5 separate regions of the Homo sapiens genome follow, and regions 1, 2, 4 and 5 are each linked to region 3. The links are contacts of gene promoters, found by promoter capture Hi-C in blood cells and fetal thymus (Javierre and others, 2016). All regions are on one chromosome and are shown on one strand. Each heading gives the region's core, a stretch centred on a gene start or on the middle of the fragment in contact. The rest is flanking DNA. Distances are from core to core; before and after follow the strand shown.

Evidence for each region. The method cuts DNA at HindIII sites, captures the fragments that hold promoters and counts their contacts. A CHiCAGO score of 5 or more calls a contact.
Region 1: a fragment that was not itself captured here is called in contact with the fragment with the promoter of SMAD7 in region 3 in 4 of 17 cell types (M1 macrophages, endothelial precursors, M2 macrophages and 1 more); the score reaches 9.8 in M1 macrophages.
Region 2: a contact is called between a fragment that was not itself captured here and the fragment with the promoter of SMAD7 in region 3, in 1 of 17 cell types (M1 macrophages). The highest score is 6.7, in M1 macrophages.
Region 4: a fragment that was not itself captured here is called in contact with the fragment with the promoter of SMAD7 in region 3 in 3 of 17 cell types (non-activated CD4 T cells, total CD4 T cells and activated CD4 T cells); the score reaches 6.1 in non-activated CD4 T cells.
Region 5: a contact is called between a fragment that was not itself captured here and the fragment with the promoter of SMAD7 in region 3, in 1 of 17 cell types (M1 macrophages). The highest score is 7.5, in M1 macrophages.

The regions. Positions count from the first base shown.
Region 1 is chr18:48,689,223-48,691,922 of GRCh38, forward strand. The region is part of intron 6 of CTIF (cap binding complex dependent translation initiation factor); the gene reads left to right. LOC105372107 (a long non-coding RNA gene) reads right to left here. Exons shown (of 4, transcript XR_007066460.1): 1 at 2,651-2,700. Among named protein-coding and RNA genes, the nearest start is that of MIR4743, 20 kb to the left of the region's middle. The HindIII fragment of the contact is 6,421 bases long and covers 1-2,700 here.
Region 2 is chr18:49,210,705-49,213,404 of GRCh38, forward strand. All of the region lies in intron 13 of DYM (dymeclin), which reads right to left. Among named protein-coding and RNA genes, the nearest start is that of MIR4744, 160 kb to the left of the region's middle. The HindIII fragment of the contact is 4,430 bases long and covers 1-2,700 here.
Region 3 is chr18:48,949,537-48,952,236 of GRCh38, forward strand. SMAD7 (SMAD family member 7) reads right to left here and starts at 1,429. Exons shown (of 4, transcript NM_005904.4): 1 at 276-1,429. The coding sequence starts at 888. RefSeq lists silencers at 367-686, 1,903-2,602. The HindIII fragment of the contact is 3,263 bases long and covers 1-1,836 here.
Region 4 is chr18:49,410,091-49,412,790 of GRCh38, forward strand. All of the region lies in intron 2 of DYM (dymeclin), which reads right to left. Among named protein-coding and RNA genes, the nearest start is that of DYM, 49 kb to the right of the region's middle. The HindIII fragment of the contact is 1,882 bases long and covers 389-2,270 here.
Region 5 is chr18:49,239,950-49,242,649 of GRCh38, forward strand. The region is part of intron 13 of DYM (dymeclin); the gene reads right to left. Among named protein-coding and RNA genes, the nearest start is that of MIR4744, 190 kb to the left of the region's middle. The HindIII fragment of the contact is 3,396 bases long and covers 1-2,700 here.

The DNA of each region.
Region 1 (2,700 bases), core at 92-2,591, 260 kb before region 3:
CCCTGAAGGAGGCCACTAGCCACATGGCGACTTTTTGCAAATTAGAAAGAGGTGCCCCTTCCTCAGCACAGCCTCTGTCTGATATTGTCATAAAAATAACTCAAATCTATGAGGACAGAGTGGCCGAGTCACCTCCTGGGGTTGTTCAAAGCATGCAGAAGCAGCAGCCCGCTCTCATTTTAAGTGGATTTCACATGCTGCAGCTTGAATTGAAGGCTTGGGTCACTAAGTCATTTTCTAGAAGGCCAAACTTTGAGTTGAGAACCTTTCAGCTACAGAGAACCCTCCGCTGAAGGGTAATGTCTAACAGCCAAGAAGGCAAGTTTCCTCCATTCTATTTCTTCAGGAGGATGGAGTCACGAGGTCATAGGAGGGCCCACCTGAAAGGAGCCTTCATGGTTGTCCATATAACACAGCCCCTTTCAGTCTGCACTGAGCCAAACTCAAGCCCCAGGCCAGCGCAGATGAGCTGAATTCTCAAGGTTGTTGTGAGTCAGAGGTCACTGTACACAGGAGAGAGATTCCTGCTGTCCAGGAGGGGCTAAGTGCAAAGGTGACTTTCAGGGAAGAAAAGGTCACTACCTTCCCCTGCCGCAGTTAACTCTCTGGGCAATGGGTCCTGGGCATGAGGCACTTGTAAAGCTCCCCGAGTGAATCTGGCTTGCAGTCATGGCTGAGCCCCTCTGCCCTAAGGTATTAAAGACTTATCCCATTTCCCCAGTCTGTGAGATACTTACATCATAGAAAAATAAGCAGTTAGCCAGGACTTGATCCTAACTTATAAAACATTAGTTCAGTAGCTTCTGTCATCTTGAAATTGATCATGCCCAGCCTTATTTTCTCCCTGTCCTATAAGAAGGTAGGATTCCTCAGAGCAGGGCTCATGTCTTCTTTGCCATTGTGTTTCTTATAGGTGACACTCTCTCCCCCATCTCCACCCCACCCCGTCCTTCACCAAAACTCATCAATTTCATTCTAAATTTTATTTTATTTGGGCGTTTACAGACTCTCCTTCCATCCACTATGGCTTCCCTAACTCCTCCGCTAGTCCTCCTTGCCCCTTGGCTGTTGTGACAGCCCCTTACCAGTCTGCCCTGGGTTTGGTTTAAATCCCCTAAATCCAGTCACCTCTAGCATGACCTACAAAGTGCACACATCTAGCTAGTTTCCTGATTTGCTCCAGCCTGTCCTTGCCTTCCATCACGTGGAAGACAAGCTCCTCTCATGCACGGTCATCCCAATCCAGCCCCTGCATTTCCTTCCAACCCTGCATCCCACATTTTCCCTATCTTGCACCCCATGTAACAGCACACTGGACTAGCTGTGGAGCCCTGAGTACAGAAGGGCCAGGTCTGTCTTCTCCTGGCTGATCCATCATGACCTGGCTCGGGGATTGGCTGTGGAAAGTAGTCCACAAACACTTAAGGAACACTCTCTCAGCAGCCCTGGCGCACCCTGCAACACGCACAGGACCCAGAAGGCATCCTCCCAGAGCCGGAACACAGGAGCCTGCCCCGCTCCACCTCTTCCAAGCTGCATGGACTTGACCAAGCACCTTTACTTCCCCATTTCCTCCTATCTAGGATGGAGATAATAAAACCTCCTCCCTGCAAACCACCATCTCAGAAGGCTGTAGTGAGAATCAAGCAAGACAATAATGGAGAAACTTCTTTGAAAACAGTGAGGTGCCAGTCAAATCTAAGGGCTTCTGAGAGGGCAGCAGTAAATAGGTATTGCACACGGCAGCTCCTGGGGCCCACTGGGAGCCACTCACCACGAGCATGGTGCACGTGCCTGTGAGCAGGGCAGACAGAGTGGCTGCAACACAGGCTTCTTCCTTCGGTATTTTTATAAAGGGAATCGGGTGAAGGAAATGTCTTGGAATAGACAATCTTCCTAAACTCCCCCAAAATAACTTCAGTGGAAACAATTGTAACGTCCACTCTGCCGGCATTGTTTCAGTCCACTGTAGTATGGGAAAAGTCTCCCGGCATTTCCAACTCAACTGGGAATCCACTTGACTTCCAGACGTCTAGAAACAAAGGGATTGTGCCCAAGGGCCACTCTGGGTGTTCGTGGCCCTCTGGTGCCGAAGACAATTCCAGGGCCTGTGTATAGCTTACTCTTCCTCTCTCCCTCCCTTTGGGAGACATATTTGCTGAAGGGCTTTGTATTTTCCCATACATAACTTTGTAGGGGTCGTTACCAAAATAGTTTGTTAGAATACACTTGAGATTCTAGATTTCCCTCCAGTCAGTCACACAGCCCAGTGTTCCAGATTCGAGGCCTCCCAATGCTCAGTGACTCTTTGCCACCTGCACCAGATAGAATCAGTCCTCTCCTAAAAGGTCTTTCCTTCTTCCTTTCTCTAGCTGGGAACAGGTGCTCATGTCCCCAGTCCTTGTCTGGTCTTCCTGTCTCCCCACTCCTTCTCTTGTGAGTCTGTCCTCCTCAAAGAAATTGTCCAAGCATCTTTGCTCACTCCTGTCTCCCCTTTCCCTCTCCCTCCCAGACCCAAGTGGTGACACCAGCTCTCCCCTGGCCTGAGACAGATCTGAAGCCCTGGAATGTTTCTTCACTCCCTCATCTATTCTTATCCTCCACCGCCCCTCACTTGCTGCCCCAGGTATTCCAGGACAATCCTATTTACCTGCCATTTTATCCTTTTCTTCTTTTTGAGACAGAGTCTCACTCTGTCAC
Region 2 (2,700 bases), core at 58-2,557, 260 kb after region 3:
GTGTCAATGCAGTTTCATCAACTATAACAAATACGTCACTCTGGCACAGGATGTTGATAGTGGGGGAGGTTGGAGGCCAGGGGATATATGGCAACTCTATACTTTCTGATCACTTTTGCTGTGAACCTAAAACTGCTCTTTAAAAAGTCTATTTAGGGGAGAAAAGGCATACTCACTGGGAGAAAAGTCTCAAAATATGAGGCTGTCATTAGTGAACCACATAAAATACGCCTTGGTAGAACAAAGTGATACAAAATACTTTTTCTTCACGGTATTAGGAATATGTTCCTGGCAAGTAGGCAATAATACTACTACAATATGGAAGAGATTATGGTAGAGAGAACACTGAATTAGGAGTCAGAAAACTTAGAAATCCTTTGGAAAAGTGCTTGCAAAAATAAAATTTTTTAAAGAAAGACAAAACTTAGAAATCTAAATCCTGCTCACCCATTGGCAGCTTTATAATAGTGGGTGTATGATCTCTCTAAGCCTCAAACCCATAAGCGAACAACATAGTAAAAAATTTTAAACCGCTCCAAGATTTTAAAGTGATATTACAAAAAATAAAGTAATAAGAGGACCAATAAGAATTATTACTATTATTGTCAGAGTAATTTCACTGACGCCACATTTCAGGCCATTTAAAAATAGCAAGCTAGAGAGAAGAGAATGTAAAATCAATCTGACAAGGTGAATCAACACAATAGTGAACATATCTGATATGTCTTGGCTATTATTAGTCCTTGAGAATCATGTCTGAAGAACTACATCAAAACTATATCAAAGTATTAATACCAAGAGGGTGATAGGTAATTTTTAAAGTATGTTGAACTCAAAACTAGTAAGTTAGAAGATTTGAAATGGGCAAATTTCCACAAACGAACAATCCATTCATCCATTCAACCACCAGCCTATCAAACAACCAATCAGTCAAGCAGTAACTACTATCTACTGCATGTGGGAATAGTGCTGGGCATTGAAGACAGGGTGGGGAATGATGTACACACAATCTCTACCCTTAGGGAGCTTACAACCTAGAGCAGGAGACAGATTATTAGACAAAACAAAATTCCTCTGAAATAGAGAAAGTCTTAAGAAGCTGTTAATCTCCAAAACAGAGTAGTTAAAAATCTTTTAAAGTAGGCTTATATTTAAAGAGATATTTCTATTGAGTCTTGGAAAGGATTCTAGGACTCCATCTACCAAAAGAGAGCAAAAACTTAAAATACAAGAAACATATTCTTGAAAAATGTGTATCACCAGCACTTTAAACAAGGGATCACAGTTAACATTAACATCAGTAATGGAACAAGTAGATGTCATGTGGCTCCTGATATGATCACAGCATAGCCAAAATCTAATTCCCAAAAAATCAAGCAAACCAAAATTGAGGGACATTCTACAAATAAACAAAAAACTGTTCTGTATTCTCCAAATTTTAAAGGCCATAAAAGACAAAGAAAGACTGAGGGACCATTCCAGATTAAAAAAGATGAAAGAAGACAACTATATGTAACATGATTTTGGTATTAGATTCCTGACTTGGAGGAGAAAAAAGGCATTTTTTACTTAAAATAGTTTTTATCAATGTTAATTTCCTGATTTTGAAAAATATCCTTATTTTTAAGAAATACACCATGTAGTACTTAGCAATGGGACATCATGTCTGTAAACTTATTCTCAACCATTTCAAAAAAAAGAGACAAACACAATAGTAAAGCAAATGTGGTAAAATTTTAACATTTGGGAATGTGAGTTAAAGGTAAATGAAAATTATTTGCACTATTTTTGGTAAAACTAATTTTTTTTTTTTGAGACAGTCTCATTCTGTCACCCAGGCTGGAGTACAGTGCCACAATCATAGCTCACTGCAGCCTAAACTACCTAGGCAAGTGATCCTCTTACCTCAGCCTCCCAAATAGCTGGAACCACAAGTGTGTGCCACCACACTCAGCTAATTTTTAAAATTTTTACTAGAGGCAGGGTCTCACTATATTGCCCAGTCTGGTCTTAAATTCTTGGGCTCAAGTGATCCATCCACCCTGGCCTTCCAAAGTGTTGAGATTACAGAAATAAGCCACCATGTCCGGCCTAATTTATTTTTAATCTGAAAAAAAAAATAGAACTGATCTTTTTGATAAACTGAATAATATCCATTTTAAGATTATGAGATTCAAACCTAGAGCCCTAAAATGTCATTCTGACCTCTATACTTACAGCTTGGGACATCAGAAAAACAAGATCATGGGAAGGAGGCAAATGTGGTCTGGAGCTAGCCCATAAAAAACAGTCACTGTTACTTAAGAATTACTTTCACAAAAATAAAATTTCCTTAGTGCCTTCTTACAAGAAAATGTCCAAGATTGTGCAATGTATAGTTCTGAAATGTTATTTGATATGGTTATGCTTCACTAAAATAAAGTACAACAATATTCTGTCCTAGAACAACATTCAAGTCTGTAAAAGATGACAAAAACCACAAGCAAAAGAGTAATGCTTAAAAAAGATTCCAAGGTGAAGTTTTCTAATAATGTATTTTTCAGTACTTTAATAATAAAATTATAACACATTTCCATAGGAACTTTTTCTAACTTTTTTTTTTTTTTTTTGGAGATGGAGTTTTGCCCTGTTGCCTAGACTGGAGTGCAATGGCATGATCTCGGCTCACTGCAACCTCCGCCTCCCGGGTTCAAGCAATTC
Region 3 (2,700 bases), core at 179-2,678:
GTGCCCGTAGACCCCTTCGGGGCAACACAGGAGAAAACCTGGAAGGGAACCCCCAGGGAATGCCCTTTGAGTTTCCCCTTGTCCCTTCTCTACTTTCAGCCCCCAGTCTCTTCCCAGGAGGGTATGCACACTCTCCCAGGAGGGTATGCACACTCTCCCAGGAGGGTATGCACACTCCCCCTGGAGGGATGGCTGCACAAACGCACTGCCCTAGGGGCTTTTCTTCCAGCACTGGCGCTCCGGAAAATGTTGGGGGTAGGGGGACAACTTCTCACCTAGTTCGCAGAGTCGGCTAAGGTGATGGGGGTTGCAGCACACCAGCTCGGGGTTGATCTTCCCGTAAGATTCACAGCAACACAGCCTCTTGACTTCCGAGGAATGCCTGAGATCCGGCCACCTGAACACTTTGCACAGCAGGAGGGGGAGCGAGTAGGACGAGGGCGGCTGCGCAGGCTGCGCGCCGGCGGGCGCCCCCGGGCCCAGCCTGCAGTCCAGGCGGCCGGGCAGCAGGAGGCACGCGGTGCGCGTCCCGCCGCGGGACTCCACGGCCTGGAGCAGCAGCTCCAGCTGCCGCTCCTTCAGTTTCTTGAGCACCGAGTGCGTGAGCGCCTTCAGATCCGCCTCGGCGCCCCCGGCCGCGCCGGCGCCCGCGGCTGGCGGGTGGGGATGGTGGTGACCTTTGGCACCTCGCACCGCCTTGCCCAGGCAGCATCCAGCCCTGCCCGGGCCGCCGCCACCGGCCCCATGCGCTCGGCTGTCCGTCGCCCCTTCTCCCCGCAGCTCGCCTCCTCCTCCACCTCCCCCTGCGCCCTCCTCCTCGTCCTCGCCGCCGGGCGCACGGCTCCTCCAGAGACGCCGGACGAGCGCAGATCGTTTGGTCCTGAACATGCGGGGCGAGGAGGCGAGGAGAAAAGTCGTTTGCCTGCTAAGGAGCGAACATGACCTCCGCACACCATGAAGAAGTCGGGCGCCGAGTTGGGGCAGCAGGCGCAGGCGACAGCAGCAGCAGCAGGGGCCCGGGCAGGAGCGGCGGCGGCCCGAGGGGCGCTCCGTGGCATGCGCCAGTCTCCCGGAGGCCGGGGCGCGCGCGGGGGCCCGGGGGCGCCCGCCGGGGATCGGGGGCCTGCGCTCCGGCTGCCCCACCCCGCGCGGCCCGCGCCCTGCGCGGCTCTCCGGCCCCGGCGCGCCCCGGAGGAACCCGGCCGCCGCTTCCCTGGGGACGGCCGAGCCTGCCCCCGTCGGCGCCTCCCCAAAAAGAGGCCCCCCCGCAGTGGCTCCCGAATGTCGGGCTCGCCAGCCTCGGCTTCCTACATGGAAGGTCCGCGGGGGCAAAAAACGAAAGGCGTTCGGCTGGGCTGTTGGAAGAAGGAAAAAGCCTCTTTCCCCCTTGCTAAGCAACTTAATTTGGGGGTGGGGAGAAGCAGGCAATTAAAAAAAAAAAAGCAAGCGATTTATTTTTTTCCTCTATATCCTTAGTAACCGGATCTCCTCGAATTCCGCGCACACGAAGACTCAGGGGAGGGGGCCGAGTGGACTTCACCCCGCATGAGACGTCTGGCAAAATAAGAAGGCTCTCGCAAAACCTAACAACCAAATATGCAAAGCCCCAAATGAAAACCACCACCTCCTCGAACCTCAGAGGTCTGGGGGCGTCCGGCTGGAACTGGGGTTTAAAAAAAGAAAATGTTTACAAAGTATAACAAGATGTTTGATGGGTGGAAAAATGTATCCACGAGTTACATCCCCCCGTTTCCTTGCAAAGCCCCGCTGGTCTTCCTCTCCTTTTCTTCTGCCAAAAAAAAAAAAAAAAATCGTGTATTTTTTTAATCCACAGAAAGCTTTGGCTAGACCGCTTCAATCCTGCGCATCTGGGTGGTTTAGGGGAGTCTCTGGTCTTTCCCCCTGCGCTCCTGGGGGCCCAGGTCCTCGGCGGGGACTTCCTCGAGGCTGGCGCGGGCGCAGGGGCAGAAGATGCTGCGGCGGCGGCTGAGCCCGGCGGGGCTGACAGCGCGGGGGAGGGTGGCGCGGCGGCGGCGGAGGGCCCCAGACGGGTCGCGCGTTCTCGCCCCCCCCGGGCACAAGCTGCTTGCTAGTGCAGGGGCCGCCGATGTCCCTTCCCCTGGCCGCGGCTGGCCGCCGAGGCTCCCCGCATGGGCTGCTCGCCTCGACCCAGCTGCGGCGGCAGGAGGCCCCGGTGTCCTCTCGGCGCCTCCTCCTCCGAGACTCTCCTCGTCGCGCCCGGGAGCCTCCTTGTCCCCGGTCCGCCCTCTCCTGGCGCTCCGGTCCTTCTGCCGCCGCCAGGGGCTCGCCGCGCCGCACTCAGGGGCTCAGGGGCCGGGCGCTCGGCGGCTCGGCGCCGACGGACTGGCTCTGTCTCGGGCAGCTCTCTCCCGCGCGGCGAGCGGACCGAGCACGGCGCCCGGCTGGCTCGGCTGGCGCGGCTCGGGGACAGGATCTTCCGTGCGCCGAGCAGCAAGCGAGTGTGCCCGGGGCTCACCGCCTCCCGCAAGGCCTCCCGCCCCCGCCCCCTTCCCTCCCCCTTCCTCCCCCTTCCCTCCCCCGCCCCCAGCCGCCGCAGCCGCGCCGCCTCCTCCCCGCCCCCCCGCACCCCCCCTCCGGCCCTCTGCTCGGCTGGTTCCACTGCGCAGTGGCGCGCCCGGCTCCGGCCTCGTCACGTGGCCGTCTAGACACCCTGTCGCT
Region 4 (2,700 bases), core at 80-2,579, 460 kb after region 3:
GGTCTCGATGCATTCCCAAGGCTGGATTACAGTGTCATGATCCCAGCTCACTGCCGCTTAGAACTCCTGGGCTCAAGCAATCCTCCCACCTCAGCCTCCCGAGTAGCCAAGACTACAGGTGTGTGCCACCATGCCCAGCAAATTTTTTTTTGTAGCAATGGAGTCTCATTATGTTGCCCAGGCTAGTCTAGAACTCCTGGCCTCAAACAATCCTCCTGCCTTGACCCCCAAAGTACTGGGATTACAGGCATAAGCCACAGTACCCAGTCACTGGATTTTTAAGTATTATAAGAGGTACCAATGGACACTGCCAGGCCATGGTGTTGGTCCTCAGGGATTAAGGTTAAAAAAAAATAAGAAGTTGAATAATATATACTCTTAGAAGAAAAGCTTACCAATTGGTTGTATAATAACACCACAACCTCAAAAAAAAAAAAAGTCTTATTATATACATTTAGCAGACTTCACTGATCTGAAATTTACTAATTCAGGATTGGGGGCTGTTTGTCTAAAATTGAGTTGAAGCCTGGACAACATAGTGAGACCTTTTCTCTACCAAAAAAAAAAAAAAAATTAGCTGGGCATGGTAGAGTGCCTGTAGTCCCAGCTGCTCCTTGAGCCCTGGAGGTGGAGGCTGCAATGAGCTGCCCTCCAGCCTGGCCAATACAGCAAAACCCTGTCTCAAAAAAATTAAAATTAAAATTAAAATTAAACAAATTGAGTTGAAACTGACTTTTGTGTTATACTTTAAAGAAATCATTTTGACAAGGGAGAGGGGATTTAGAAAAAGTATTATTTAACCTTCTACAAAAGAAATGTGTTTAAAGATGTTAGCATATTATTGTCCATATGCAAATAAATTTGCTGAAATAACTTGCATTTTGTACAGGCCTATATACACTATTCAAAGTTCTTTCACCTTTATTATTTCATTTGATTTCTTTTAAAAACCCTGAGAAGTTGACCGAGGAAATGGGAGTATCCTCACTTTACAAGTGACAGAAATAGAGAAGCAGAGTAACTTGTCCAATGTCACGGTATAAGAATAAACATATTTAACTTCCAGATTAATACTCTTTCAATATGAATAATATTAAATGAGATACTCTTAAGGCAAACCCACATAATATCAACCTAGAAACACTCCAGCAACTAGTTGGAATTTCTATATATTCCTAAAAGAAGTTGTGTCACACATAAATTATTATAAAAAGTATATCTACATTATAATTCCAATCATGCAAAAATTATGTGAATTATAAAGAATTGGAAGAAAACAAAATTTTAAATCTAATAAGGAAAATGGTAAGATGATAGACGACTTTCTTGTAACTGCTATGAAATCATAAACTATAGTGTGGTCGGGAAGCTAAAATTTTAAATTAAGTATTCCCTACTTCACAGTTTTCTGTAATTTAGACTGGTTTTATTTTACTTTTAGGCACACCGTTCTCATATATGAATCTCAATAATGAAAAGTGAGAAATTAATAGCTCAAATATTTTTAAGAAAAGCAGATAGGCAAAAAAATTGTTGGGGGAGAAGTTATAACAGACCTCTGAACACAGGTTTGCTGAACAATCAAACTGTAAGTTTCATAACATAAACACTGAAAATCCTTAGTCCCTTCAGCTGAAAGTTCCGCCATAAAATTCTTTCAAAACTGACATTTTATATTAATGATGTCAATTTCAGCCAACAACATACAAATTCTGATAAATATATAATGTTAGTCAAAGATATAACCTGAAAAAATCAACAAGTAACGATTCAGGAAAGGACAGAAGCACTTCTGAAGACATTTTCCCCCTTACCTTAGCAAAGAGAATTACAGAAATCATTCACAAAACTAACAAGAATCAGCCAATTCAGTGGTTAAACTGTGGGAAGGTTAATGTTTTAAGAGGACCTATTAATAGGAAAAAGTCAAAGGACAAAAACTGCATATAAATTATAGCAATTTTTAACGCACCCATGCAGAACCAAAAAGGTGTTTACATTCATGTGATTCACAGACAATCGTATATGCTGTCATTCAACTGCCAAAATGAAAGGAAATATAACTATTAAAATGTCAAAATGTCAGCAACTACTATGCTAGATAATACGGTGTTTATTTTCCCAAGAAAGAGAAAAACATTGACTTAAAAAAAAAAAAAAAAAAATTCCAACCAACACAGTGAGAAAGAAGAGGAATCAAGGGTGCACCTGCAGTAAAACTTACATGTCCCTTTACTTTAATGCTTTAAAGGATATATTTCCCCCATTTAAGCTTTTAGTTTAAGGGACTGATTAATCCTGGGAAAACTTAAGCATCTTCTAAAATGATTTTTGCATAGAAAGGTATAAATGAAAGAATGGGAAATAAAGGTTTTGACTCAAGATGTAAAAACTGAACTTCTTGTGGTCCCTCAATTTGAAAAATATAATAAGATGCCAAGAAAAGTCTCAAATTATTTATTCCCTGAGTAAAACAGCCTAGTACATTATTTTGGTCACCAACCAAGCAAACCTACAAAGAAAAAGTTAAAACAGAATTTAGAAGATGGTTTAGCAGCGATCCCAGGCCCACCTCTACAACAGAGCAGATTTTTCAACTTGAAAAGTTCTAATAAAATTGAACATAAAGTGTGCCAAAGAGCCTAAAAATATAGAAACAGAGACAGGCATCAAAGATTCAAAGAAGAAAGTAATTTTACA
Region 5 (2,700 bases), core at 125-2,624, 290 kb after region 3:
TAGTACAGTAACATTGTTTTTTTATGACTTTTTAGAATAGAGACCATGAGCTCTTACAGAGAATAAACATGATTTATATATTCTGTATACCCCTTCTCTTTCAACCTCTGATAACTATGTTCTCAATAAATATTTATTAAATGGAAGCATGAATAATACAAATATAGTTAAATATTGATTATACTGATGGAAGGAAGGTATAATTCAGAAATAGTAGATATTTAAAAGTATATACACTGAACTCTGTAATACAGACATGCTCACATCCACTCTACCTATCTCATCCTGAAAGGGCATTAGAGTGCTGGTTCTTATACTTTTCTCAGGGCCCCTTTCAACTCTTAAAAATATTAATGAGAACCCCAAAGAATTTTTTCATATGTCAGTTATACTGACAGATATTAAAACTGAGAAAATATTAAATATTTACTAATTCATTTAAATTTAATAATAAACACATTACATGTTAACATTAATACAGTTAATGAAAAAGCCCCTTTAGTCATTTGAGAGATATTGGTTCACTGAATTATGCAGATCTTCCAAATGTTGACACATTTCATCAAATAATAGTTTTTAAAATCCATATTTACTAACATCATTGATGTTATAACAAAAGTCTAAATTATTAGGAAGTTGTCAAACTCATGATGCCAAATATAAGTTTTTCGAAATTTTAATTTTGACTTGAAAATTTTTTTTATTGGCAACCAACACTGGCAGTTTCCTCTCTGCCAAGACTGTCTCATGTTCTTTCGTGTAAAAATGCTATTCCATCAGAAAAGTGGCTAGTTCAGCTCACAACTCTATCACACACCTGCTTTTCCTCAAGACAATCATTGGAACCCAGTATGGAGTAGAAGTGCATTATGTGAGCTTCTAGTTTTACAACAGAAAATATCAAAAAGATGTACTCAAGGGTCAAGATTTATAACAACTAATCATTTTTACTATTTCGCCAAGGACATTTTTCAGTGAAGATGGTTTTTATTTTACCACAAATGTGTGTGTGGTTGTGGAAAATATAGTGAGTACTAGTACAGTTAGGCACCACTTGATTTATGCTAAGGTCTCAGCAGTTTTACCCCAACTTTGCTATTGTACCCTTGATGCAAATGTCAGCACAGTGGAAATGGCAAATGATGTCTTATTATAAAAGGCTTAGACTCCATGGACTCTCTGTGGCCCACAGAACACACTTCGAGAATCAATGCACAGAAGTGATCCAAGACTGCACAGAAACTTTATATAGTGGACATTCTACTCACTCACAACTGAGAATCTGAGTGCAGGTATAAGGTAGATGATGTCTGCCTATCCTTTTCAGCTTTATCAATGTCAGGTCTGCCAAAAAGAACATTTCTACGCTAGGGTCAAACTTGGATTTCAATTTCAGCTCCACACTATTAGCTACATGACCTTGGCTAAGTTTCAGTCTGAGTCTCAGTTTCCTCACCTATTAAACAGAAATTCTGTACCTTATAGATGGCTAGACTTATAATTAAATAAGACAGCATCCATATAACACTGACTAGCAATATGAGTGATAGAGTAAGCCCCGAACTCAATCAGATTCTAAATGACTAAGGACCAAAACTATGGCTAATTTCCATGTTTTGGAAGATGGTGGTAACCTGATTTTATTTTTCTCTCCACCACTTGTAGAGGGACCAAATAATAAATGGATATTCATAAAAATGTACCTCTTTACATAATGCAATTCTGATAGATGAAATGATGTCAGGAATTGCTTCCAAATAATCCAGGGTAGGGAGAAAAAGGAGGGGAAATAAATGAAATAGTTTGTCAAGAACTGATATCTGCCGAAGGTAGGGGCTGACAATCTAAAGTTTCATTATATAATTCTCTTCAAACATATTTCGAATTTTTCAAATTAAAAAGGAAAAAGCTGATCACTCATTTGAGGCTTCTATAATAATTATGCTTCGACTGTCGTTAAGTTAATAATGTACAAATTCAGTTTCTACGATAAGTCACCTTCTACGCTGCGAGTTATCAACCATTTTCCCAGCACTACAACATGCACCACACATGTTCTTCAGGCGTCTTTCTGCAAAGATGAGTCAGACAGGCTGCCTGGAGTTACACTCCACTTGCTCTCACCCCACCCCACCATTCCACTGTGGCTGAGAACTGCTGATCTAATTTAAAGTAATCTGGGCTGGGTGCAGTGGCTCACGGGTGTAATCCCAGCACTTTGGGAGGCCGAAGCAGGCAGATCACCTGAAGTCAGGAATTTGAGACCAGCCTGGCCAACATGGCGAAACCCCATCTCTACTAAAAATACAAAAAAATTAGCTGAGCATGGTGGTGTGTGCCTGTAGTCCCAGCTACTTGGGAGGCTGAGGCATGAAGATCGCTTGAAACTGGGAGGCGGAGGTTGCACTGAGTGGGAAGTGCCACTACACTCCAGCCTGTGTGACAGAGTAAGACTCCGTCTCAAAAAATAATAATAACAATAAAAATGCATAAAGTAATCTGAGTATTTCAACCATCTTATAACTGTAATATACATTGAAAAATAAAGTTTCCTGAGTAAGAAAACAAATTAAAATTGGATGAAGGTCAGCTTGACACACAGCCTCTAGATGGGTTGTATTTTAATACATGGTTTATTTTCATCACCTTGTGGGAGTCAAGTTCGATGAAGGAAGTTTTGCGTCTTCTGTAGGTCACTGA